Linked DNA regions of Homo sapiens: region 2 is linked to region 1. The links are contacts of gene promoters, found by promoter capture Hi-C in blood cells and fetal thymus (Javierre and others, 2016). All regions are on one chromosome and are shown on one strand. Each heading gives the region's core, a stretch centred on a gene start or on the middle of the fragment in contact. The rest is flanking DNA. Distances are from core to core; before and after follow the strand shown. Region 1 holds the start of ZNF133 (zinc finger protein 133). Region 2 holds the start of NAA20 (N-alpha-acetyltransferase 20, NatB catalytic subunit).

Region 1 (2,749 bases), core at 248-2,747:
GTCCTCTCTGGGCAGACAGGAGCCACAGGGAGGCAGAACAAGAACAAAAAGCGTTCAAGAAAATCAAGGGAAATCCTCTCCAGCAGGGCAGTACCTCCTATTCCTTAACAGCATCAGGAATGAACCTGCCACAGAAGAAAAGGAGAAAAGAACTGCGGGCAGCTTCCTGGGAACACAGCTGGGGTACAGGTTGAAAGCACGACCTGCCCTGATATGCTGTTGACGCTGAGCATGAAGCGACCTTCTCTGTGCCTGTTATTAATGAAAGGTAATATTCACTGAACACTTAGTATACACCAGAGACTGTTACAGCCACTGTAGGAGTTTCACCTCATTCTATCCTTTCAACAACCCAATACGATAGATGCTATTATCCTCTTTAGGATAAAATCGAGGAAACTGAGGTACAGTGAAGTCAGCATCTTGCCCAAGGTGACACAGCTATAAAGTGACAGAGCCTAGAGGAAATGTGGCTGTGGAGACCGTGCTCTTACACAGTAAGGGCAGTGACGGTGAACTCTGGATTGCAAGGATTCTCTGTGTCCATTCTGAGATGAATCAAGATTGGTCATAAGGTTTTAAGTGTTGAATCTGGGTGATGGAGATCTGGTCTATAGAGTTCTATCTACTTCTGGCTGTTTGAAATTTCTCCGCAATAAAAACTTAAATGGAATGTAAAATCCCAAAGCCTGGCCACACCAGGGGCCTGGGAATCCGTAATTCTTGCGATCAATGACGGTCCCTGGGACCTTTGGAAAAAACCTGTCCTGTGCGTCCCAGCCAGACTTCCTCCTCCAACGCCCGAACCCGGGGGTGACCAACCAAAGTGAAACCCTAAGATCGCGGCAAAATGGCCACCCCAGATCCAGTCTAACCTTGGCTTGTTTGGTCAAGCCAGACCGCTCCTCATTCCACTCCAGCAAAGCCGAAGAATAGTGTGGCCCCAAGAGACTAGCCCTCAACCGACCAATGCCTCGGGGACACATGGCCCCAGGGATGGTTCCCATTCCACCACCTGGGAAATACCATTCCCCCAAAAAGCTTATTTATTCAACTCCCCCAAAACCGGGGACTTATGGCATCAGCGACTCCCTTTCCCAATACCCGACTTCAGCCAAAGCCGAACCTGTCCCCACCCACAAGAACCCTAGGAGAGAGAGCCCGATCCCCCACTCATCACCATCCAGTTTCACGGATGGGCTTCACCCAACTCCCCTGGAGATGCACGCCCACACCCCCAAAATAAGACATCTGGGAGAGGACGGCCTGCGCCACGCCAGCGCGTTCCCACCACAATCACCACCCCCGCGCCACCCGCACGGTCCCCAAATTCAGCCCATAGTCCAGCCTTTCGGGACCTTCCTTTTCGCGCAGAAAAGGGTACGGCTGCGGCAAGGGTCCCGCGGGAGCCTCACTCACCAGCGCCACCAAAGAACAAGGGGTCGCTCCAGCCACCAGCTGGGGAGCTCCTCCAGCGGGGCGCCAGGACTACACTACCCCGAATCCTCGGCACAGCGCCCGGACCACACCTCCCAGGATGCTCGGCGCCACCAGGCGCGCCCTGAAGGCCGGCAGCTCCCATTGGCCTCTGACGGATCCGTTTCTGAGTAACACGCTCCGGTCACCGGAGAATGGCCACTGTGGCACCTGAATTCTCCCTCTTTTTTCTTAACCACGTGCATAAAACACGTAGGAGCTCCCGAGAAGAGTGCCTGGCCCTACTGTGACCCTCCTTCTGAGCGCCTCTGTCTCGAAAACTACACTTCCCAGTGACCCCTGGAGCGACTTCCGCACCCGGTACCGGCCCCGCCCCTTGGCGCGCGGAAATGACGTTTCGGGGCGCATCTGTTCGGCTTCTGGGGTTGGCGGAGGTGTACCGCTGGCTGACCAAGCTTGTTCAGGTGCTGGTTTGTGTTGCAGCGGCCTGTGGTCTCCCTGGCTCCAGCCGCCTGCTTGGAAAGTCACGCCCCATATTCCTAAACACCGGGCGAACGTCATGTCGTATACCCTTTAGCTCCATTTAAAGCCTTGAAAAGGCCGAGCAGTCTGCCTGAAGTCTCACATCCCGTACGAGGTAGACCCGATTCTGAGCCCACGCCCTCAACCCGAATACACCTTTTCCGGTGCCCTGAGACCTTTTTCTTCTTTTTGAAATCCACGAAGTTATTGTTAAACTCTCATCTCCTGAGAAGCAGAAGCCTCAGTCTCGGGCCAGAGCTTGGCCTGCCGTCGGCTTGGATCTCTAGGTCTTTGTCCGGGATCCTGGTTGAGAACAAGATTGCGCTGGTGCCATCTGGGACGCCCCATCTGGGGAGCTCGAGGGGAAGGCCCACGTCACTCTTGAGAGGGCTTTTCCACCCGTGCACCCTCTCACTGCCCTTCACCTTCCTCAGATAGGCTTTCTGAAACTTTGTCATTCTCTTGGAAGACCAAGAAAATGACCACTGTCTGAAGGGCCAGGGAGATGAGAATTTCCTAAAATTCTTTTGTAGCTCTCAGAGGGTGAATCCATTCCCTTCTGGTACCCCGAGGCTACATTATTTATTGTGAATTCAGTTCAGTCCTGGCTCCGGAGACATGTCCAGTGTCAATTGGATTCATCCCTCAACATCATTCTCTGCCTCATGAGTCAGTCATCACCAAGAAATTAGTTGTTAATACACATAAAGGTTCAGAACAACAATGCAGGGATGCCTGTGTTCAAGTGTTCACTTGTGCTGGCTGTACAATAAAGACACAGATGGCTGAC
Region 2 (2,700 bases), core at 86-2,585, 1.7 Mb before region 1:
GAAAATTCTTTCCACAGGATCAAGTCTAAACCCCTCCTGTTTCACCCATTTCTTCCTGACTGCTCAGTGGCAGAAACCAGCCACTAGATTCGCACTGATCCCAGTTGTCTGACCGCACTTCAAGTTTCCCCATTTTCATGCCCCGCTCCTTCTCCGGAACTTCCGTCTTCCTCACTTACCAATGTGTTATCCATCTTCAAGGCTCACCCCCTCTTTGAAATGTTCCCAGCCATCTTATCCCATAGTTCTTTCCATCTTCCTGACACTTGAATCGGAACCACTTTGTCCTTAGTTTTCACATACCGCCCTGTTGTTTTTTTAAAGTGGATCCAGGACTGATAGATGGGAAGGAAGGAGAGATACCAGCGTAGCAAAATGTTAACTGCAGAATCCAGGAAAAGTGTCTATAAAAGCACATGGTGAAATTCCTCCAACTTTTCTAAATGTGTGGGAATCTTCATAATAAAATGTTTTCTTAAAAAAAAAAAATTGGTACCTGCAAATCAGAGGTCTGGCCTTAACTCGAATCCAAAGAAACTGCATCCAGGGCTCTGGGCACAGCGAGCCTCCCCTAAGATCTGCCGTGACTCCTCACAGAGGAAAGGTGTGTACACCGGGGTGCGCAGCTACAGTAACTAAACTTGCAAACACTAACCATGACTGAGACAGCATCTGCTGCAGGGGACGCAGTGATCAGTGTCATTTCATTTGGATACAATTTAACCACGGCCACCAGGTGGGCTTCACGATGTACACATCCCAACAGCTGCTGACCAGCTTCCGATCCTCGCAAGCCCCCTCTGCGGCCTGGCCGTCGGCGGTGCCCTCTGCCCAGAAGAGGCGCGGCCCGGCCACGAACCAGCAAGCAGTAGGGCAGGGCGAGAAGCCCAGGTCGTGGGCTCCAGGCCGCGTCTCCAGCTCGCCCCATCACCCCAGCGCCTCCTGACAGCGACCACGAGCGGAGGCCCGAGCGCTGCCCCAGAACCTGCCAGCTCGCAGGGTCCAGAGACAAAGTTTGAGCACCTCGGCCAAGGTCGCCAAGGCCGGCGTGCGTCGACTCCAGGCCCACCTCTCCCTGGACCCTGTGGCCCCAGGGAGGCGCCCACGTTGGCCGGCGGGGGGTGGTTCTCGCGGGTCCCCGTCCGGGCTTGGGGTCCGGCCGGGAAGGCGCGGCTGGGGCCGGAGCTGGCGGGGCCGGGAAGCGAGGCCCGGCCAAGAGCGGCTGGCCCTAGGCGCGTGTCACTCACATGTTGTTGAAGCGGAACAGGTCGTCGCAGGTAAAGGCCCGTAGCGTGGTCATCGCGCCGCCGCCGCTTCCGAAGACCGTTCGCCAAGACCCCGCGCCCGCCCTGCCGGAAGTCTCCCGGAGCGTGGCCGCCGCGGAACCGAGCGAGACGGGGTACTGCTTCCGGGCTACGAGTTGCTGGGCAACGACAGCAGCAAAGCAGCTTCCTCTGGCGGCCGGCGGCGGGAATTGCCAGGTCGCTCCTGTAAGGCCTCCGGGGCTGTGGCTGCCCAGAACCTCGGAACCCCTCCCAGGCAGCGGCTGCAGAAAGCAGGCGGCGACACCTGGGAAGGAAAGAAGCTGCTGGTGATGCGGAAACCCAAGCAGAAGAGCGGAGTTCGCAGCCACCCGGTGCTGCAGAGTAAATGAGGAATGGGAGAATTTATGACCCAGAATCCCTTGTCCCAGTGTTGCGAGTTGCAGATGTCATCTTAAAATGTCAATACCACGTTTAAAAACAAAAAGAAGGCCGGGCGCGGTGGCTCACGCCTGTAATCCCAACACTGGGAGGCCAAGGCGGGCAGATCACTTGAGTTCAGCAGTTCGAGACCAACCTGGCCAACATGGCGAAACCCCCTCTCTACTAAAAAAAAAAAAAAAAGGAAAGAAATAAAAATTAGCTGGGCGTGGTGGCACGCGCCTCTAATCCCAGCTACTTGGAGGCTGAGGCAGGAGAATCGCTTGAACCCAGGAGGCGGAGGTTGCAGTGAGCCGAGATCTCGCCACTGCACTCCAGCCTGGGCGACAGAGCTAGACTTGGTCTCAAAAATAAATAATAAATAAATAAAAGCAAAACGAAATGTAAAATTGATTTTGATAGTACGCTTTATTTTACCCATTTATTTTTCCTATTTGGGAAAAATATTTTTCCCTGACCCCACTTTATTATACCCGAAATATCATTTCAACATGTAACCAATCAATACTCAACATGTAATCAATCAATAAAAAAAGGAATGTGATATGTTACATTCTTTTTTGCAAAGACTTTGAAATCCGGTGTGTATTTTACATTTGCAGTGCATTTCAATCTGAGAGAGCAGCTGTCATCGGAAATGCTTGTTCTCTATTTAGATTTCATCAATGTATGGTTAAAAAGCAGATTCTCATATCCAAGCGGTTCCAAATATACTGTTTTCAAATCGCTGAACCAAACATCAGTTTTTAAATTTAAAGTAGTTAAAATTAAAAGTTAAAAATTCCTTTATTCAGACCAGACACAGTGGCTCACACCTGTAATCCCAGCTACTTGGGAGGCTGAGGTGGGAGGATCATTTGAGCCCGGGAGGTAGAGGTTGCTCTGAGACATGATTGCACCACTGCACTCCAGCCTGGGTGACACACCAAGACCCTGTCTCAAAAAGATAAGATAAAGAGAGATAAAATACATAAAGCAAGCAGGAATGCTGAAATGT

Evidence for each region. Contacts are between HindIII fragments. The CHiCAGO score rates a contact against its expected background, and 5 or more counts as called.
Region 2: a contact is called between the fragment with the promoter of NAA20 here and the fragment with the promoter of ZNF133 in region 1, in 6 of 17 cell types (naive CD4 T cells, total CD8 T cells, non-activated CD4 T cells and 3 more). The highest score is 11.1, in naive CD4 T cells.

Annotation. Positions count from the first base shown.
Region 1 is chr20:18,287,275-18,290,023 of GRCh38, reverse strand. It overlaps ZNF133 (zinc finger protein 133), which reads right to left and starts at 1,497. Exons shown (of 7, transcript NM_001352452.2): 1 at 1,420-1,497. RefSeq lists enhancers at 765-884, 1,445-1,784, 890-1,795, 1,875-1,924. The HindIII fragment of the contact is 851 bases long and covers 1,044-1,894 here.
Region 2 is chr20:20,015,997-20,018,696 of GRCh38, reverse strand. NAA20 (N-alpha-acetyltransferase 20, NatB catalytic subunit) reads right to left here and starts at 1,335. Exons shown (of 6, transcript NM_016100.5): 1 at 1,248-1,335. The coding sequence starts at 1,300. RefSeq lists enhancers at 1-72, 534-1,034, 1,649-1,828 and silencers at 1,089-1,208, 1,259-1,328. The HindIII fragment of the contact is 8,583 bases long and covers 1-2,700 here.